4 separate regions of the Homo sapiens genome follow, and all the other regions are linked to region 3. Evidence: promoter capture Hi-C in 16 types of primary human blood cells and fetal thymus (Javierre and others, 2016). All regions are on one chromosome and are shown on one strand. Each heading gives the region's core, a stretch centred on a gene start or on the middle of the fragment in contact. The rest is flanking DNA. Distances are from core to core; before and after follow the strand shown.

Region 1 (2,700 bases), core at 61-2,560, 280 kb before region 3:
CAACCAGCAACCGTCATACTTAATGGTGCAACGTTAGAAGCATTCTCTTAAAAACTGGAAATGACAAAGATGCGTGGTAGCTTTGTTTCTATTTAAAACCACCAAAAGCTAGAGGTAGTGCATTTAAGACCAAAAAAGTAGGGTTTTTCAGTGGAATAGAAGAAACAAAACACCCATTATTTCAGTGACACTGTGGTTATATAGAAAACACAAAGTAATCTACAAATTATCTGAATTATTAATTTTAATAAATTCAAATAAGTTATACAATAAACTTATTTTAAATCAAATATATTTCCACACACCTGTAACAGAAATGAAATTTCTTAACAGAGTAACAAAAATACAGGCTCCCTAGGAATAAATACAAGTTGTACAAGACCTTTGTTTAGACTATTTTAAAGCTTCATTGAAATATTTAAAGGGTACTTAAATAAGTAGAGAAGTATGCTTTGTTTTTGGATAGGACAAGACAATTTTGTAAAGATACTGCTCTCCAAATTTACAGATTTAATGCAATTGCAATCAAAATCCTAATAGTGATTTTTATAGTAATTGACACACTAATGTTAAAAATTATGTGGGAAAATAAAGAGTTGGGAATAGGTAGAGTTTATCTGAAGAAAAATAATTAGGCAAGGAAACCAGCGCTACCAGATATGAAGACTTATAATGTTATAAGACCGTGTAGTATTGACATAAGGGTACACAAACAAAACTAATGAAGAGAATGGGGATTCTAAAAATTGACTATCCATAGATAGAAACCTGATATATGAGAGAGGCAGCATTGTAGACCAGTGAAGAAAGGGTGTACTCTCTGATAAAAGAGTGCTAGGACAATTAGATATTCATTCACAAAATAAATTCCAAGAGGATTCAAGACCTAAATATAAAAAAATCTTTTTAACAAATTTAGAAAATATGAGAAAATTCTTATGATATTGGAGTAGAAGAAGGATTTTCAAATTAAGACAATATAAAAAAAGATTTATTAATCCATGTATTAATCCATTCTGGTTCATTGCAGTTAAGAAACGTCTCTGTTCTGAAAGCCCTCAGATAGTGAAAAGGTGAGTCACATAGCAGGAAGAGAGGTTTGTGAATCATTGTATCAGCCAAGGTAGAGTAAGAAATCAGAAACTACACTCGGCATTTCAACAGAAAGAATTGATTATAAAGTATTGGTTAAATAGGCATTCATGAAATGGAAAGGCAAAGAGAACCCCAAGGTGATGCAGAGATAATAACGTCTGGAAGCAGCTTTCTCCTGCTAGTTTTGAGAGAAAAAGTGAAGAGGCTGCAGTTATCAGAATAGAGAATTGTGGAGCAGGGGCTCTGAGGAATTGGACCTCACACTTGTGAGGATGGGGTGCTGCCCAGCTGGTGCCAGTAACTCAGGAGCTCAGAAGGTGGGTCTTCCAAGGTAGAGCGCTGCCAATGAGGGTGGTTCCAGGAGTGCCATAAGAAAGCTGGCACAAGACCCAGTGCTTCCAGCATTAAGGGTCATTGCTGGGGCTGCGCTGATGGGAACAACAAATGGAACAAAAGCATGTCCCATTCTTCTCTTTCTGCCGTCCCATCCTCATCTATTGCTTCAATCAGCAGAATCTGCAGGAAGCCAGCAGGTAGATGAGAAATGTAGTTTGCAGAGTGCCACAGCCTCAGTAAGCAGGGTCAAGAAGGGTGGGCTCAGAGCTAAGAGACAGTATAGTTTAATTTCTGGCACAACCAGGTAGTCAACAAAGGACTTCTATCCAGAATACAGACTATCTTGATAAGAAAATAGCCAAAAGGAGAGGAGAAAAATAAGCAAAGAACTTGACAAGCATTTCTTAGAAGTAACAGGAAAGACTACTAGACATATACAAAATGCTTAACCTCAGTGGTAATCAGGTAAATGCAATTTAAAATGGAATACCATGTTACAGCCGTCACCAAATTAGTAAGAAATTAAATTTCCTGGCACTCCATGGTGTCAGAGTACATTTTCTACTCCAATGATGTAAACCAATGAGAGCTCTTCTACACTGCTGGTAAGAGCATATCATACACCTGTATAACTTCTTTGAAAAACAGTTTAGTATTATTTAGTAAAGCTACTCATGCATATACTCTCATTTCTCTCTCGGGCATATGCCCTATAGAAACTCTGCTACATGTGCACCAGGAGACACATTCATAGATGTTCATACTCTGTATGATCCAAAGCTTTTAAAATTGATTCAGACTTGTTTTATGGCCCAACATATGGTCTATGTTGGTAAATATTCGATATGCACTTGAAAAAAATGTGTATTGTGTAGTTGTTGGATGTTGTGTTACATAAGTGCAATTTAAATAAGTTGGTTAATAGTGTGGTTTAAATCTATATTCTTACTGACTTTTTTGCTTGTTTGTGTTACTTGTTACTAAGGAAAGTACTAAAATCTCCAGTTATAATTGTGAATTTGTCAATTTTCTTTATGCTTCCCTTTGTTTTTGCTTTATGTGTTTTGGAACTCTGTAATTAGGCATGTACACACTTAAGATTCTTACATCTTCTTAATAAATTAACCCTTTTATCATTATGAAATGTCCATCTTTATCACTGGAAATATTTCTTTTTTTTTTTTTTTTTTTTTTTTGAGACGGAGTCTCGCTGCATCACCCAGGCTGGAGTGCAGTGGCGCGATCTCGGCTCACTGCAAGCTCTGCCTC
Region 2 (2,736 bases), core at 104-2,603, 260 kb before region 3:
GGATTGGAACAGAGCCAACATTCCCACTACCTGAGGGTGATCGGGGATTGACAAAGTCCTCTCCAGCATGTCTGTCCCCTTAGTCTTGTAAGGCTGGCAGCCACATTATTCATCTTTAACTGGCTGACAGGGTTCCAGTGTTTTGTTTAATTTTTAAAAACTGAGAATGAGAAGTCTCAGAAATGAAAGTAAAGAGTTGGAGGTCAGCTCCTGCTCACCATTCCAATATGTCGTTTCCTGGCCAACACGCCACAGTGTTGCAGTCTTGTTGTCTGAGGTATTACCCAAGCTCTTTGTCTCACAACCAAGAACATTAAGGAGTGTGGACACCAAGGGTGAGGTTGGAGCAAAAGTTTAATAAGCAAAAGAGGAAAGCTCTCCACAGCAGGGGGCCCAGAAGCATTGCCATTTTTTCAGTTGAATACAAAGGGTTTTTTAAGAAACTTTCCCTATCTGTGTAGCTGTCTGTGTAACTGCCCTTATCTGTGCAGCTGCAGCATGTCTCAGGTAAGCCTCCCCCAACATGCAAGTTTCCACGGAGCCCACCATTTGCATGTTCATAGAAAGGGAGGAAACCTTTTCTTGGGAGCCTGTTGATCATACAAAGAACAAAGGCATTTCTTTATTGGGGCTTGCTCCCATATCTGTGCAGCTGCAGCTTGATTTTTTTTTTTTTTTTTTTTTTTTGAGACGGAGTCTCACTCTGCTGCCCAGGCTGGAGTGCAGTGGTGCAATCTCAGCTCACTGCAAGCTCTGCCTCCCAGGTTCACGCCATTCTCCTGCCTTAGCCTCCTGAATAGCTGGGACTACAGGCACCCGCCACACCTGGCTAATTTTTTTGTATTTTCAGTAGAGACAGGGTTTCACCATGCTAGCCAGGATGGTCTTGATCTCCTGACCTTGTGATCCGCCTGCCTTGGCCTCCCAGAGTGCTGGGATTACAAGCATGATCCACCACGCCTGGCCTGCAGCTTTATTTTTCAGGCTGTTTCTCTGTTTGAAAAAATTCTACTTAGTACCTGCCTTAACTGTCAGCTCAACTGGGTTTTTTTCCTTTCTCCTCTCTCAGAGGGAGGCAAGGAAGTACCACAGTGTTGGACTGACATTGTAAGTAGTGGTGTAAATACACACACACACACACACACACACACACACAGAATTTCATAACTGCCTTCTGAAAGGGACCAGAAACAATCATTTAGTTGCATTGAGCACTCTTAATGCCCATAATTTAGAATTAAATTCCCTTAAGAGGAATCAGGAGACCAGACGTGGTGGCTCACGCCTGTAATCCCAGCACTTTGGGAGGCCAAGGCAGGTGGATCACGAGGTCAGGAGATCAAGACCATCCTGGCTAACATGGTGAAAACCTGTCTCTACTAAAAAAATAAATAAATAAATAAAAATTAGCCGGGTGTGGTGGCGGGCACCTGTAGTCCCAGCTACTCGGGAGGCAGAGGCGTGAACCCGGGAGGTGGAGCTTGCAGTGAGCCGAGATCACGCCACTGCACTTCAGCCTGGGTGACAGAGCGAGACTCTGAAAAAAAAAAAAGAAAAGAGAGAGAAAGAAAGAAAAGAAAGAAAAAGAAAAGAAAGGAAGGAAGGAAGGAGAAAGAAAAGAAAAAAAGAAAGAAAAAAGAAAAGAGAAAGAAAAAGAAAGAAAGAGAAAGAAAGAAAGGGAAGTCAGGAACTCCTGAAGAAATGTCTGATTCCAGGGCTGGACAGGAAACCTAAAAGGTAAACAATGGAACATCTTGTGCCAGAAGAAAGTGCTTAAAAACTGATAGAGTTATGTCAACAGAACACAGGAGCCAGCCTGAAGAGACTCACTCCTAGCTAAATTTAGGGCAATTTAAGCATTGCAACAAATAAAGATAGGAATATTTTATAGCTCATTAAAGAGTCTGTGAATCCATATTAGTAAATTTATTTTTTTATTTAATGTAAAGAGAGAAAATCTCTTCCTTACCAAAAAAATTAACTAACAAATATAGATGGAATGATGGAAATATAAAACATCATTTTATAAACATCATTGTAGTAATTGATTTGGGTAACAATCATTATCAGATGCTAAATTTGTTAGTTGAATATTGTTGGAGAACAGAATTTTTAAAAATATGTCAAACACCATTTAAGTTAAATAATCAAATTCAACTCCACCAGTCATGGGACAAACTGACTTCCTTGCCTCCTGATGTGATACACTGAGAAGAGCACAACCCCACCTCTGTAGTAATTTTACCAAAATATTGAACTTTATTTAAATAATGAGAAAACAATTAGACAAATCCTCTCCAAAGAAACCAATATACTAATTTTAGCATATTTTGGGCCTATTTTTGACTTTACATACTTTTATGTTTGTGAGATCCAGTCATGCTGCTGTATAGATATTGAATACAGGGACATTCTGCAAAACAGCTGGCTCAGGCTCCTCAAAAATGTCAACATCGTGAAAGAAAACAGAAGTCTAGAGAACTAGTCTAGATTAAAGTGATCTTAAAATGCATGGAAACCATATACAAACAAAAGCGTTGATTGGGTCCTGCATTAGAAATAAAAGACTGTCAATGATATTATTGGGATAATTAAGAAATATAGAATGTGCATTGCATAACAGCTGATTGTGTAATTCATAAACTTTCTGAGTATATTGTGATTATATAGGAGAATGCCTTTGTTCTTAGAAGATATATGTAGAAATATTTAGGGGTTCCAGGATTTCTCCAACTA
Region 3 (2,700 bases), core at 102-2,601:
CTTATGAATAAACTTATTCATATAGATATGTATCTGGACAGATAGATAGATAGATATAAATGAGACAGGCACCTGCGCCTGTAATCCCAGCTACTTGGGATTGGGAGGCTGAGGCAGGAGAATACCTTGAACCCGGGAGGCAGAGGCAGAGGTTGCAGTGAGATGAGATCCCGCCACTACACTCCACCCTGGGTGAGAGTGAGACTGTGTCTAAAAAAAAAATATATATATATATATATATACACACACACACACACACACACACACACACACACACACACGTATATATATATACTTTTTTAATTAAAAAATTTTAAAATGGCCGGGCGCGGTAGCTCTCGTCTGTAATCCCAGCACTTTGGGAGGCCGGGGCGGGCAGATCACGAGGTCAGGGGTTCGAGACCAGCCTGGCCAACATAGTGAAACCCAGTCTCTACCAAAAATAGAAAAATTAGCCAGGCGTGGTAGCAGGCGCCTGTAGTCCCAGCTACTTGGGAGGCTGAGGCAGGAGAATCCCTTGAAGCCGGGAGGCGGAGCTTGCAGTGAGCCGAGATCGTGCCACTGCACTCCATCCAGCATGCGCAACAGAGCGAGACTCCCTCTCAAAAAAAAAAATTAAATAAAATCTGCTACAGTAATCTTTTTTAAAAAAATCTACTATCTCTCTTGTAAACGACACAATCTTTCTCTTTGGCAAAAGTAGAATATGAGGCGTTTTAAAGTGTCTAATTCCAAAATCCCTGCCCCGGCGTGAGGCTCCCGCCTCTAATAGATGCGTGACCCTGGGCCTGTCCCTTCCCATCTCAGCCTCCGCTACTGTCCCGTGGGGCTGGCGGCCCCTGCCCGCCCAGCCTGCTGTAGGGGGGGCCGCGAGGCCTCAAATGGGACAATACTCCTAAGGCGCGGCCTCCTCGTCGCCGAGCGTGACTCTGGGGCCCGGCCTGGCTGAGGCCGCAGATGGGCCGGATCGTCAGCCGCTGACGTCGGGGCCCCGCCCGCCGGGCCTGGCATTTGGGCCGCCCGGTCAATGCCTTCGACGCGGGCTGGGCGATGGGCCGGGGGCAACGAGCGCGGAGGCTGCGCGCAAGGCCCTCTCACCCCGCGGCCTCGCGCGGCCAGAGTCCCTCGCGCGGGCTCACGCGGCGGCGGCCTGGGCCTTCCGGGCGTCCGCGGGGCCGAGGGCGCTTACCCGGGCAGGCGCCGCTTCGGCCATGGCTGCCCGCGTCCCTCGCTGGGTTGCAGTCCCTGGACCCGGCCTGTCGGGCCCGGGGCGGCGCGGCAGCGACGGCGGAAGCGGAGCGGGACCCGCCTAACCTGAGAGCTACTGCCGGGCGGCAGCGAACTGCGTCCCGAGCCACGTGCCCCGCTGGCCCTTTAAAAAAGAGCTGCGCTCGGCGGCCGAGCTTGAGGACGCGCACAGCGCCCCCTGCAGCCCGTAGGACCGCACGCCCGCGGCCGCCGCCCCGCGCCCTCCCGAGGCCTTCAGCGCCCGCGGCGTCCGGGACCCAGGCGCGGCCACCCACCCTCACCCGGGGCGCGGGAGTTGACGCCAGGGCGGGCGTGCCACGGCCTCCAGCGGGGCTACGTCAGGCGTAAGCCACTCCCGGGCCAGCGCGGCGCCCAACCTCTCTCTGCGTCCCACGCGGGAGCCGGGAGGGCTGCGGGAAGGAACCGCGCTGGAAAGTGCGAAACCTCGCGAGGGAAAGCTGCGTGGGGAACGGGGTCGGCCCTCGCCGGGGCTCCAGTCCGGACCGAGACTCTGTTGCAGCGCCTCCCACGCACCACAGAACTGAGTTGGGGAAAGTAAAAAGGATACGTGTGTACCCAGGGAGAAGCCAGGGAAACTTACATGAACGTTTTTAAAGTCTCTTTTAAATTTGACAGAACAAACGTGAAGATGGTAGGATTTTTTTTTTTTTTTTCCTAAGCCTGCCCTCCCCTCCTGAGGACTCTGGGGTCCCTTCCTCCTCCCGGGGCCCGCCTGGTGAAAGTCCTCAGCCACCCACGAGGACCCTTCTGTAGCTTTGGTCCAGGCTGAGATCACAGCAAGTGTGAATCAGTCCATCCCTCATTTAGGCCCTGAGGCATCTTGAATAAACCGCAGGACCCATTTTCCTCGGCCTGTGCTGAGGCATATTGAACTAAATGTGCTGTATGCAGTTGAAGCTTTGTTTTCTGTCTTTTCTGCATTTCCCATTCATCTCACAGTCTTTGTCCAACAAGCTGGCAAACTCTTCCCGCTAGAAATCTGCAGTTTTGTTTCTTTCTGTGTTTGGGTTTGTTTGGGGTTTTTTGGTTTTGGTTTTGTTTTTTCTTTTTTGGGGGGGGGGGGTGAGGGTGAGAAGTTATTTTCACAAATATTTGAGCCAAGCAAAAGCGTGGTCAACTATCAGAAAAAACACAAACTGATATCCTAAGTAAGGTGAACCCCAAAATTTGCGGAAAGGTTAGGACGTGTTACTTTAAGGTAACAAATCAAATAAATATTTGGCATTATTCATTTTGGAAATTCTTGTTGAACTATCCCAATCTAAAACACAAACTGCAAGTATGCACTAAAGACATTAAGAGCATCCCTAGGATCTTATCAGGGATCAGTCCAATCTATTCAGGATTATAAAATACCAGTAAATGGTGACGTTATAGAATAACAGTTAAGGTCCAATGCAAACAGAAAGGGTCAGGAAAATGGGCCAGGAG
Region 4 (2,700 bases), core at 36-2,535, 300 kb before region 3:
GAAGCAGACCCTGAAGCTAGAATTTAAGAGCAAGTAGTTTATTTGGGAGGTAAGTTCAGGAAACACCAGTAAGGAGTGGGAAGTCAGAGAAAGGAAAGAAGCCAATAAAAGGTGGTGTTAACCTAAATAACAGACGGAAGCTCTCTGAAAGGAAATTATATTTATTTAGGGAATGAGCATTGGCAATGGGAATACAGGTGTCACAGTAAACTATGTGTGTTTTTGAGGAGGTCATGGTAAGGGAAAGTTTTTAAAGGCAAAATGAGAAGGATTATATAAATTGTTTTGGAGAAATAATTCTTGGCTCTAGCAATCAGTAACAAGGGTGGCAACAGTCCAAGGCTAGTCAGGCTTTTGCTGGGCAGATGTCCTTGCAGAAGTATTTTTTGTGAGTGTGTAAGGTTACAATGGCCTTTGTGCAAGGTTGTGGTTTTTACAGTCTTTTGTGATAGTTCTTGTTATCAGGAATTCATATATAAAAGCTCTACCTTTGTGGCCTTCCCTGGCTCCATTTGCCGGGTTTTAACACAAGTGACTCCATTTTCATTCTGACAACTTTCACAGTGGGATATTGGACAAGTTACCATTATAGGCAACTGGAGCTTAATACCGTTGGGGACTTTGTAAGATGTATAACATGCTTGAGGGTTATCCTCTCCAAAAGAACAAGGCAACTTGTGTATTTCTCCATCTACTGCTATCAGTCATCGGTAGAGGGTTGCTTTCGAAGGTTGGGTCCTAATTATTTGGTACTTTCAGCCTGTTACATGTTTGGGCAGCCTGAGAATGCCCTCAGACATAAAGTTACAGGTGCTGACAGTTGAAATTGGGGCCTGCATGCACAGAACTGATAAGTTCTGAAGGAATATCAGTGGGGCAGCAACAGCATTTGCTATATCCTATAGTGTGGTGAATTACAGTAATAGATTTTTCTAATGTTAAGTCAAGCTTACATTCTGAAATGATCTTAATTTGGTTATGTGTTATTTTTTATGTAATGCTGGCTTTGATTTATTAATAGTTTTGCTTATGGTTTTTAAAGTCTATTCTATATTAATATGTGAGATTGGCCTGTTTTCTTACATTGTCTTTGTTATTTTTTATAATAAGTTTAACCTCATAAAATGAGGTGGGAAAGGGACTGCTGCTTTTAGTTTTCTATTCTCCAGAAGTGTCTGTGTAAGACTTACATCGTTTCATTCTGAAGTGATTGGTATAACAAGTGTTTGGTATAACAAGTGTTTAAACTATCTGTGCCTGGAAGTTTTTTGTTACTTTTTTAATGGCAGAATGTTTCATTGAAAATACAAGTTCCTTAATTGTTCCATGATTAGTCATGATTTTTACTTCTTCTTGTGTCAATTTTGATAAAATTAAGCCAGATGTCGAGGACAAATACCACTAGTATAAGCATAAAGTAAGATTTATTTGGGAAAAGTTACAAACAATGCATCAGAATGTCTGCAACTTCCCAAACTCTCTTTATTTCAAGGAAACATGTTCTTGAGCTGGACACAGTTAGACACACGGTAGCAAGTACTCCAGAAGAGACGTTCTTTCTCTGTGCCACATCAGATATTTACAGGGAAGTTTGGAGGGAATACTTAATAGTAGAAGCTTCTTGGCAAAAGAATCAGCCTTGCTGGTAGACAGGAGAATGTGGAGCATTGCCACCAAGTGCTTATGAGGTTGGCATAATGGTACCTGTATCAGCTAAAAAATTGTATTTTTTTCCTTTGAACCAGTTTAGTACTGCTAAACTAAAGTAGATTAATGAGAAGGGAGAGAGAGCCAAGACCATCAAGCAGACAAAGAATTTCTCTCTTCATGTAAGTTTTACTTTTCTAGAAACTTTTCCATGCCATGTAAATATTACATTTCATTGGCATAAAATTGCTCATAATAATATCTTACAATCTTTTTAATTTTGGGGGAACTATAATAATGCATCCTTTTCTCTCCTGATATTGGTTATTAGTGTTACTTTGTCAATCTTGTCTGGGTTATTACTTTTATTGTTTGTTTCAAAAAACAACTTTAGCTTCATTGACCCTCTCTCTTGTGTGTTTTCTACTTAATTAATTTGTGCTTTCATTAATTAATGTATTACTTTCTCCCTTATTTTTTCCTTGGATTCATTTTACTATTATTCATGCCTTTTGGGAGAGATGCTTAGTTTGTTCATTTTAACCTTTTCTTTCTATAATACTAGAGATGCATTAAGACTGTAAATTGCCATGTAAGTACTCTAGAGCTGCAACTGATAAATTTTAATATCTAGTATTTTCATCATTTAGTTCAAAATATTTTATAATTCCTATTACAATTTATTCTTTGACCCATGGGTTATTTATATGTAGAATTTTTAGTTTCTAAACACAAAGATTTTCTAATATTTGTTGGATTTGTTAGTTATTTGATGTTATTAATTTCTAGCTTAATTTTATTTTTGTCAGAAAACATGCTGTTTATGATTTCAATACTTTGGAATTTGTTAAGACTCGCTTTGTGGTTCAGTATACAACTCATGTTTGTCAGTGTTCCACGTGTGCTTGGAAAAAAATGCATATTCTGCATTTAAGTGCAAGATTCTTTACATGTTAAACAGGTCAGTTTTGTTAGTCATGTTGTCCAAATCGTCTGTGTCCTTTTGATACTATGTGTGCTTGTTTACAAATTCACGAGGGTTTTTAAGATCTC

What was found. Contacts are between HindIII fragments. The CHiCAGO score rates a contact against its expected background, and 5 or more counts as called.
Region 1: a fragment that was not itself captured here is called in contact with the fragment with the promoter of ZNF783 in region 3 in 9 of 17 cell types (neutrophils, naive CD8 T cells, M1 macrophages and 6 more); the score reaches 9.4 in neutrophils.
Region 2: a fragment that was not itself captured here is called in contact with the fragment with the promoter of ZNF783 in region 3 in 1 of 17 cell types (neutrophils); the score reaches 7.7 in neutrophils.
Region 4: a fragment that was not itself captured here is called in contact with the fragment with the promoter of ZNF783 in region 3 in 5 of 17 cell types (erythroblasts, monocytes, endothelial precursors and 2 more); the score reaches 9.3 in erythroblasts.

The regions. Positions count from the first base shown.
Region 1 is chr7:149,542,614-149,545,313 of GRCh38, reverse strand. No RefSeq gene overlaps it. Among named protein-coding and RNA genes, the nearest start is that of TRC-GCA16-1, 2.6 kb to the left of the region's middle. The HindIII fragment of the contact is 1,807 bases long and covers 407-2,213 here.
Region 2 is chr7:149,525,356-149,528,091 of GRCh38, reverse strand. No RefSeq gene overlaps it. Among named protein-coding and RNA genes, the nearest start is that of TRC-GCA16-1, 20 kb to the left of the region's middle. The HindIII fragment of the contact is 6,318 bases long and covers 1-2,736 here.
Region 3 is chr7:149,260,847-149,263,546 of GRCh38, reverse strand. It overlaps ZNF783 (zinc finger protein 783), which reads right to left and starts at 1,351. Exons shown (of 6, transcript NM_001195220.2): 1 at 1,190-1,351. The coding sequence starts at 1,213. It overlaps LOC124901769 (a long non-coding RNA gene), which reads left to right and starts at 1,206. Exons shown (of 2, transcript XR_007060582.1): 1 at 1,206-1,900. RefSeq lists a silencer at 884-1,753. The HindIII fragment of the contact is 3,928 bases long and covers 1-2,168 here.
Region 4 is chr7:149,562,649-149,565,348 of GRCh38, reverse strand. It overlaps the pseudogene ZNF767P. Among named protein-coding and RNA genes, the nearest start is that of TRC-GCA22-1, 7.3 kb to the right of the region's middle. The HindIII fragment of the contact is 669 bases long and covers 951-1,619 here.